2 separate regions of the Homo sapiens genome follow, and region 1 is linked to region 2. Evidence: promoter capture Hi-C in 16 types of primary human blood cells and fetal thymus (Javierre and others, 2016). All regions are on one chromosome and are shown on one strand. The core of a region is centred on a gene start or on the middle of the fragment in contact, and the rest is flanking DNA. Distances in the headings are between cores, read along the strand shown.

The links. The method cuts DNA at HindIII sites, captures the fragments that hold promoters and counts their contacts. A CHiCAGO score of 5 or more calls a contact.
Region 1: a contact is called between a fragment that was not itself captured here and the fragment with the promoter of ZNF805 in region 2, in 1 of 17 cell types (non-activated CD4 T cells). The highest score is 8.2, in non-activated CD4 T cells.

What each region holds. Positions count from the first base shown.
Region 1 is chr19:36,832,601-36,837,447 of GRCh38, forward strand. All of the region lies in intron 1 of ZNF790 (zinc finger protein 790), which reads right to left. Among named protein-coding and RNA genes, the nearest start is that of ZNF790, 3.4 kb to the right of the region's middle. The HindIII fragment of the contact is 2,503 bases long and covers 976-3,478 here.
Region 2 is chr19:57,237,024-57,241,912 of GRCh38, forward strand. It overlaps ZNF805 (zinc finger protein 805), which reads left to right and starts at 3,609. Exons shown (of 4, transcript NM_001023563.4): 1 at 3,609-3,898. The coding sequence starts at 3,869. RefSeq lists enhancers at 3,207-3,426, 3,447-3,716 and a silencer at 3,837-3,906. The HindIII fragment of the contact is 2,977 bases long and covers 3,558-4,889 here.

The sequences.
Region 1 (4,847 bases), core at 977-3,476, about 20 Mb before region 2:
TTCAAATGATAGCAGCCCTGGCCAAGAGTGTGACTGCAACCTCAAGAGACCCCAAGCCAGAACTTCCCAGCTAAGCCACTCCTGAACTCCTGGTCCACAGAAAATGGTGTTAAGATAATAAATATTTATTTCTGTTTTAGGGTAATATGTTTTACAGCAATAGATAACTAATATAGAAATGAAGGTTAGAGAATAGAAAATAGACTAGCTCATTGATTGCCTCATTTGTGATAACTGAGAGATAAAGGGTGTCATTTCAAGCTGAAAATCAAGGGGAAGAAATTTAGAAATGTTTAGGACTACAGCCAAGGCAGGAGGACTGCCTTGAGGCCAGGAGTTTGAGGCCAGATTAAGCAAAAGAATGAGACCTTCTCTAAAAAAAAAAAAAAAATGAATACAAATGTAAGTCAAACAGGGCAAAATGTCAATTAAATTTCAACATACAAGCAAAAAGTAGGAAATTTAAAATGACAGCACTTAGCAGGAAAAATTCAAATTCCTATAAATAAATCTAACAATATATGTAACATACAATATCTTTTGTTTGTTGGTTTGTTTTTGAGACAGAGTCTCGCTCTGTCACCCAGGCTGGAGTGCAGTGGCACAATCTCGGCTCACTGCAACTTCCGCCTCCCGGGTTCAAGTAATTCTCCTGTCTCAGACTCCCGAGTAGCTGGGACTACAGGCACCAGCCATCATGCCCAGCTAATTTTTGTATTTTTAGTAGAGACAGAGTTTCACCATATTGGTCAGGCTGGTCTCGAACTCCTGACCTCAGGTGATCCACCTGCCTCAGCCTCCCAAAGTGCTGGGAATACAGGCATGAGCCACCGCACCTGGCCTGTACAATGTCTTTATATTAATTACTACAAATAGTTAAAGAAGACCTAAACAAATGAAATAATTTATCACATTCATGGGATGAAAGGCTGATAATTTTCAAGGTGTCAGTTTCCCCAATATAGTGGTATAGGAAGCTTAAAAGTAAAAGGATAGCAAAAGATATACCATGCAAATCATAATCAAAATAATGCTTAGGTGGCTATAATATCAAGACACCATAGATTTCAGAGCAAATAAATAACATGGAAGAAAGGATGGTCTTGAATACATGGTGCCAGGTCAACTGAATTTATATGAGGAAAACAAATCATGATTTCCCCTCACGACACAAAAATCAATTCCAGGTTTATATACCTACATGTGACAGATAAATATAGATGAAAATACAGAATATCTTCATACCTTGGGGATAAGCAAAGATTTGAATAAGATACAGAGTACAAACCATAAAAGAAAAATGATAATGATCAGACTACATTTTAAAAAGCAATTTTTGTTCATCAGAAAAGAGTGAATGGGCTGGTCATGGTGGCTTATGCCTGTAATTCCAGCACTTTGGAAGGCTGAGGCGGGTGGATCATCTGAGGTCAGGAGTTCGAGACCAGCCTGACCAACATGGAGAAACCTTGTCTCTTACTAAAAATACAAAATTAGCCAGACATGGTGGCGCATGCCTGTAATCCCAGCTACTCAGGAGGCTGAGGCATGATAATCACTTGAACCGGGGAGGCAGAGCTTGCGGTGAGCCGAGATCGCACCATTGCATTCCAGCCTGGGCAACAAGAGCGAAACTCCATCTCAAAAAAAAAAAAAAAAAAAAAAAAGACAGTGAGTAAAAATGCAAACCTTACGCTAGGAGACGATATATACAATACACAAAGCTGACAAGGGACTCATTCAGATTATACAAAGAACTCTTAAGGATTAACAATGAAAGACAAGTTTCCCAACAGCTAGGCTAAGAACTTGAACTGGCACTTCCCAAAGGAAGATATCCAAATGGACAATGCACATTAAAACAAAGGTATTCAAGTTCCTTAGTCATCAGTTAGGAAAACCACAATGCAATACCACTACATATCCACCATATTGGCAAACATTTTACAGTCTGACAATGCCATGTGTTAACAAGAAGATGGATCAATTGGAACTTGCATAAACTGTTGATGGGAACTTTTAACTGGTTCAGCCATTTTGGAAAACTGACAGTATCTGCTTGAGGAGATTCACATACTCTTACTCACCAATTCCTCTCCTTGGAATAACCCAATAGAAATGCATACATGTAAACACAAAATGACAAGTGCAAGAATGCTCTCTTCCTGATTATTCATGAGAATAACGTATTGTCTGTATATATGATAAACTTCAATAAAAAGACTAGGAAGAAATACAGCATATTACAAGGCAAATACAAACAAAAAAATAAGCAGAGGCCATGATCTTGAGCATGCTAAAGCCTGCAATTCATAATAAACATATAACAATCATTAATATCTGTATATCAAAGCAACAACAACTTTCATAAAGCAAAAGTTACAGGTTATATAAAATAAAATTTTGGCTGTGCACGGTGGCTCACACCTGTAATCCCAGCACTTTGGGAGGCCAAGGTGGGCAGATCACAAGGTCAGGAGTTCAAGACCAGCCTGGCCAATGTGGTGAAACCACGTGTCTACTAAAAATACAAAAAAAATTAGCCGGGCATGTTGGCGCATGCCTGTAGTCCCAGCTACTCAGGAGCCTGAGGCAGGAGAATTGCTTGAACCAGAAGTTGCGGTAAGCCGAGATCCCACCACTGCACTCCAGCCTGGGCGACAGAGGGAGACCCCGTCTCAAAAAAAATAAAATAAAATAAAATAAAATTTCATTAATACACCTCTCTCAATCCAAGACAAATCAAGTGTAAGGCAAAAAGTAAGTATAGACTGACCAGATGTTAGATCACAAATAAAAGTTCACTAAGTTCCAAAGTTTAAAAATAACACAATATAGCAAAACTGTAAATTATATTATTGGTGAAGTGGGGACCTATGTACTTTACTGGAAGTCTTCAACATAATCAACAGAGGTTGAGGTCCCCTTATGTCACAGGGATCAAGACTCCTCCACAACACTGAGGCCAAGACACTACACCACTGTATTAGTTTTCTACTGCCATGAGGTAGTGGCTTAAAATAATACAAATCTATTATCATATAGTTCAGTAGAAGTCTGAGTTGGGTCTTACTAGGCTAAAATCAAGGTGTTGGTAGGGCTGTGTTCCTTTCTGGAAGCTCCAGGGGAGAATTCGTTTTCTTATGTTTTCCAGCTTCTAGAGGCCACCAACATTCCTTGGCTTAAGGCCCACTTCCTCTATCTAGTAAGCAATGTGGCATCTCTCTGACCATTCTTCTGCGGTCACATCTCCCTCTGACTTTAAACTCAGCCAGGAAAGGTTCACTGACTTTAAGGACCCATGTCATTATATTAGTCCAACAAGATAATCGCCCCCATTTCAAGGTTCTTAACTTTATCCCCTTTGCAAAGTCCTTTTTGCCATATAAAGTAGCATCGTCCTAGTTTCCAGGGATTAGGAAGTAAACATTGGTTGCAGGGCCATCATTCTGCCTACCTTGACCCCCCTTCTATCTTAAGCTTCCTTCTTTCTGAGAGATACTCAGTGAAGGAAATAATGTATACAGTGGTCCATTTCCAAGACAAAATGCCTTGAATTGGCTTAGGTAAGCAAACTACAGAAGAAACAGGATATACTAGGCCCCTGCTTGGATAGATGATGCCTGCTTGTCAGCCTCCCGCTTTCTCCCTTTCCCCCACTTAGTTGCCTTCACCCAAACCAAAGAAGTTTAGTCTAAGATGAAAGTTTGCTAGCCTGCAAAATAGCTCATTTTGTCTGCTTTTATCAGCCTGCCCAGCTGCTTAGGTCATAAGTCAACTATTGAAGAGACCTTGAGCTAACTAGGATTGCAGTGCATTGTGGGCCGCAACCAAATGCAGCAAGACAAGCCTAAAAAAAAAACACACACACACACCGGCTGGGCGCGGTGGCTCACGCCTGTAATCCCAGCAGTTTGGAAGGCCGAGGCGGGCGGATCACAAAGTCAAGAGATCGAGACCATCCTGGCCGACACGGTGAAACCCCATCTCTACTAAAAATAGAAAAGTTAGCTGGGCGTGGTGGCACGCACCTGTAGTCCCAGCTACTCGGGAGGCTGAGGCAGGAGAATCCACTTGAACCTGGGAGGCGGAGGTTGCAGTGAGCCGTGATTGCACCACTGCACTCCAGCCTGGTGACAGAACAAGACTCTGTCTCACAAAAATCAAAAAACAAAACACCTGAAGCCCCTACCCAACAATCAATAGGCAACATCCGGGAAGATTGTGACCCCATAGTTATCAGCCTATGAGGAACCAGGGGAGGAACCTGTGCACTAGGGGATAAATTGCTTGTTGAAACTGTTGGGTGTGCCTATCAGACACTGATCTTGCAAGACCATCATTAAAAGTCTCACTTTTGCTGTTCTCCGGGTCTCTGAGTCCATTCTTTGGGACGGGTAAGTTTGTTTCTCACACTCAAGAAATCATCTTTCACTATCCCACGCTATCTCTCCAAAACTGACTTGAATCCAACCAGAATAAATGTCAATCCAACCTTGTATTTATATTTATCTACTATAAGAAGTCCCAGAATTTCTAGTCAACTGTCTTTTCGGACATTGTATACCATCAAGTCTCATTTGTCCCCTTTTCTCATTCTTCCCAACTTTCAACACTTTTCCTGTATGCCTTCATAATGGAATTCATAATTCATTAACAACCAACTCCTCTTTTATCTTCAACCACTTCCTTGAACACGCCCTAACATTCTGAGTCTAACAGAAACTAGGCTGTATCTGGAGGACTCTGCAGCCCTCTCAACATTTCCCCAGCTACAGCCTCTTACCAGTGGGTCTGAAAATGGAACAGATGGCCGGCCTCCTTGTTGTTCACTACCTTCAGACCTT
Region 2 (4,889 bases), core at 2,359-4,858:
AAATAATGAAAACTCTGTCATGCTTTACATGAGGGATTTGAAAGTGTCCCCAGGCCGGGCGTAGTGGCTCACACCTGTAATCCCAGCAATTTGGGAGGCTGAGGCAGGCAGATAAACATGTGAGGTCAGGAGTTCGAGACCAGCCTGACCAACATGGTAAAAACCTGTCTTGACTGAAAAATACAAAAATTAGCTGGCCATGGTGGCTGTAATCCCAGCTACTTGCGAGGCTGAGGCACGAGAATCACTTGAACCTGGGAGGTGGAGGTTGCAGGGAGCCGACATTGCGCCACTGTACTCCAGCCTGGGCAACAAAGTGAGACTCTGTCTCAAAAAAAAAAAATTGTCACCAATATCTACATAGCTTTCTTCAGCAGCACTGATTCCAGACATTCCATGATGGAATATAAATATACTAACTTTAATATCTGTTCTGCATCCAAAGCGAAAACTAATTTAACCCTACGGGTCATACACATATGGAAAGGAGAATTATTCCTCTCTTCTAAATTGGGCAAATTAGTATTGTCAATGATGAGTAACAGTGTCAACAGCTTGCACGCTAATTAAGCAACATTTCTCAATAATCTCATTTTACAAATAATACCTTCTAGAAAATTGATTCCATCTACATTTCCACCCAGTTAACATCCTGTCATGATACTTTCTCCACTTTCAAATCTCTGGAGGGCATTTTCTGCACACCTTGTTTCCATTTTCATAACCATATGTATTGTCAAATCATTGAAAGCTGGATTTTATTCTCTAACCTTCATAGTCATGAGAAGAAAAAAAACAGTCACCAACGGAGACTACAAAGGTTTTGTATAATATGATTTTTTTTTTTTGAGACGGAATCTTGCTCTCTGGCCCGATCTCGGCCCACTGCCGTCTCCGCCTCCCAGATTCAAGCGAGTCTCCTGCCTCAGCCTCCCAAGTAGCTGGGATTACAGGAACCCGCCACCATGCCCAGCTAATTTTTGTATTTTTAGTAGAGACGGGGTTTCACCATGTTGGCCAGGCTGGTCTCAAACACCTGGCCTCAGCTGATCCACCCGCCTTTACCTCCCAAAGTGTTGGGATTACAGCCGTGAGCCACTGCACTCGGCCTGTATAATTCTTAAAAGATTGTTATGACCCTAACATGACTTTGTTGCTTTCTTGTTTGCAACCAGTTAGTTCAGGGTTGTCAAAAGGCCAAAATTACAACAAATTTAGTTTTAGATCTAATTGACTTTTGTTTGTGATTCATGAATTGAGGCAATCTCTGTTCTACACAATAGAAATTAGAGTTCCCACTGGGCAATGGCAGAACAGTGGGTTTTGTAAGGTGGGAACAATAAAATAGAACAATAGAAAAAAAAGCTGATTGGTTAACAGATTACTTTTTCTAAGGGTTAAAGCAGAGGGGACTTCCTAATTTCACTAATTCAGGTAGACTGAAATCTGCTTTTAGGAAAAACTGGGATCTGTCTGCTTCCTTAAAACTTCAGTTTGATTAGATGACATTTAGTATGAGAGACGCCATTTTGATTTGGTCAGTGAGGCCTGCTGTAGGAGCTCCAAAACAATGGCCTCCTGTAATTTTTGTTTAACAATGTTCACCTCTTTCCATTCCTTTCTCCATCTATGCTCATTTTTTTTCATGGTCTTGTCCAGTATCATAACTTGAAATAACAGTGTTTGCCAAAAACTTCCAGATTTTTATGTCCAGGCACAACTTCTCTCCCAATATTCAGTCAGAGATTGAACTGCTGTGACACAGACACTCTGTGGTCATACAGACATTTCAAACTGATCATGCTTAAAGTTGGAGTCATGAGCTCACCCAGTCCAAGACTCCCCACGTTAAGGAATGTCAAATCTACTCTACCAGGGCTCTCAGCCAATACCTAAAGCAAAAGTTGCTGGACCATGTGAAGACCAAGCTTGGCCAAAGAAGGCCCAAGAGAGACAATGCATTTGCAACATGTCCCAGCTGGACAGGGTCTTGCTCTATTGCCCAGACTGGAGTGCAGTGGTGCAATTACAGGTCATTGCAGCCTCGACCTCCTGGGCTCAAGAGATCCTCCCATCTCAGCCTCCTGAGTAACTGGAATTACAGGGGTGTGCCACAATGCTCAGCTAATTAAAAATTTTTTTTGAGTAGGCTGGATGCTGTGGCTCATGCCTGTAATCCCAGCACTTTGGGAGGCCAAGGTGAGTGGATCACTTGAGCACAGGAGTTCAAGACCAGCCTGGGCAGCATGGTGAAACTGACTACAAAAACTACAAAACAAAACAAAAAAACCCTCAATTTGCTGGGCGTGGTGGTGCGTGCCTGCAGTCCCAGCTACTTGGGTGGCTGAGGTGGGAGGATCACTTGAACCCTGGAGTTTGAGGCTGCAGTGAGCTGTGATCGCGCCACTGCACTATGGCCTGAGCAACAGAGCGAGACCCTGTCTCAAAAAATATATATATAAATATATATATAAATATATATGTGCATATATATACGTATATATACATATGTATATATACGTATATATGTATATATGTATATATAAATATATGTATATATAAGTAGAGAGAGAGAGAGAGAGAGAGACGGAGTCTCACTCTGTCGCCCAGGCTGGAGTGCAGTGGCGCGATCTCGGCTCACTGCAAGTTCCGCCTCCCGGGTTCACATCATTCTCCTGCCTCAGCCTCCCGAGTAGCTGGGACTACAGGCGCCAGCCACCACGCCCGGCTAATTTTTTGCATTTTTAGTAAAGACGGGGTTTCATCGTGTTAGCCAGGATGGTCTCGATCTCCTGATCTCGTGATCTACCCGCCTCGGCCTCCCAAAGTGCTGGGATTACAGGCGTGAGCCACCGCGCTCTATTTTTTTTCTTTTCTTTTTCTTTTTTTTTTTTTTTTGGTACCAATGAGGTCTCGCTCTGTCGCCCAGACTGTTCTCAAACTCCTGTCCTCAAGCGATCCTCCTGCCACAGACTTCTGGGACCACAGGTGTGCGCCAGCACACTCAGCTTATTTTAAAAAAATTTTTTTTTTTTTTGGTAGTCTCCCTATGTTGCTCAAGCTGGTCTTGAGCTCCTGGGCTCAAGCGATCCGCCCCCCTTGGCCTCCCAATGCGCTGGGATCCCAGGCCTGAGGCATCGCGCCGCCCGACGTCCCCCTTTGGTTACTCTGACTGCCCGCTGATCTGTATAAGAGGATCCGGAGGGGAAATAATGCAAGGTGGAAGTCAGAGTCCGGAGCCTGGTCCAGGGTCTCTGCACTGGCCCTGACCCTGGCAAATGTCCCTGACTCCTGGGGCTCGATTTCCTCCGGCCAAGAATGGACGGTCTCGCGCTTGGTCCCTGGCCTCCGAGTTGTGCCCCCAGGACAGAGGCAGGTCTGAGCCGGGCTGTAGGCCCGCTGCGACTTTTACACCGAGGCCTGCCGGCTCAGGATCTGTCCCCTTTGCAGGTGGTTTGTAGAGAAAAACTACATTAACTACAAGGCATTGCCAGGTGCGACGGCGGGCCCTGGGGCCAATGATGGTCCAGGACAGGGGCGTTTCCTGTGGGTTGCGAAGCTTGGGGCGGGACTTCCGGCATTTGGATGGGACGTAATTTGGGAGCGACGGTTCCGTCCACGCCGGCTCTAGGGAGGGGGCGGTGTTCCGTGGCCGCCTCCCTGGCGGCGCTGGGGAAATGAGCAGGTAGGAGGCCGACAGCGACCTCCGCGTCTCGGAGCGAACCGTGAGCCTCCCCGTAACGAGAGAGTTTGACTGTCAGCCAAGGTCACCGGGCCCGGCGCAGGGAAGGGGTGGGGCTCGGCTGAGCCCGCGAGACCCGCCCTGCTCGCCGCAGCCCCCGCCCCGCTAGGGCCACAGGGTCCCGGTATGGCGATGGCTTTGACGGACCCGGCGCAGGTGAGTGGACAAGGTTTCGGCCTTGCTGCTTTTCTGCTAGTTCGGGGAAGCCTCCTGGGCAGGCCGGAAGCCAAGACAGCCACAGGATTCCTCTTTGTAGTTTTGTTTGTTTACGAAACGTGGAGCAGGCTCGTCACTTAGTTTATCTCCTGTCGTGGTAGTACCTGAGAGACTGAATATTGAAGCGGACAGTAGGCAGACTATACATCGATTATAGGGCTGTGACGTACAATTTTTTTGTAGCAACCTGCCCAGGAAACCAGCCTCCTGTTCTGCAATAAACTACTCTGGAAGCCAGTCTGCCTTAAGTTAGTCTTGCAAGGAGCTAGATTACTCTCTGGTGACATTTCAGGAGGCTAAACGGTAACTCCTGGAACAGTAGGCCCCAAATAGGACTTGATTTGTAACTGACTGTTCTAATTTTTGCCTCCGCCTCCAAAAGAGGACCAAGCAGAGAAAGCCATACGTGCTCAGCCTAACCAATCACATACGATGCCCCACTTCTAGTTAGCCCTTCTGCAGCTTTCCACTGCTAAAGTGTCAGGCCTCTGAAAGCTGCTTAATAATTGCTTGAAGGATGGATGAAGTTCCACTCCAGGGACTCCCGTCACACACATCATCCGAACTCAGCCTTGGCCTGCAAGTCCCTACCCGGTCCACTATGGCTGACCACCTCTGTCCTTGTTTCCTTCCTTTCCTCCCTGGCTCAGCGCTTCAGACACAGGTCCACTATGGCTGACCACCTCTGTCCTTGTTTCCTTCCTTTCCTCCCTGGCTCAGCCCTTCAGACATATCAATCTGATCACGCAGAGTTCTTTCCTACCCCTCAGCCTTCACCTTTACAGTTCATTCAGCCTCAGACACTATCCTCAGATCTCTGCAAGACCCTTTCACATCTTGTTGGCTCTGCTCAAATGTCACTTCTTTAAAGCGGCCTTTCATGGCAGTTCAGACTAAAGTAGTCCCCTTCTCACCTGCCCTTGGTCTAGCG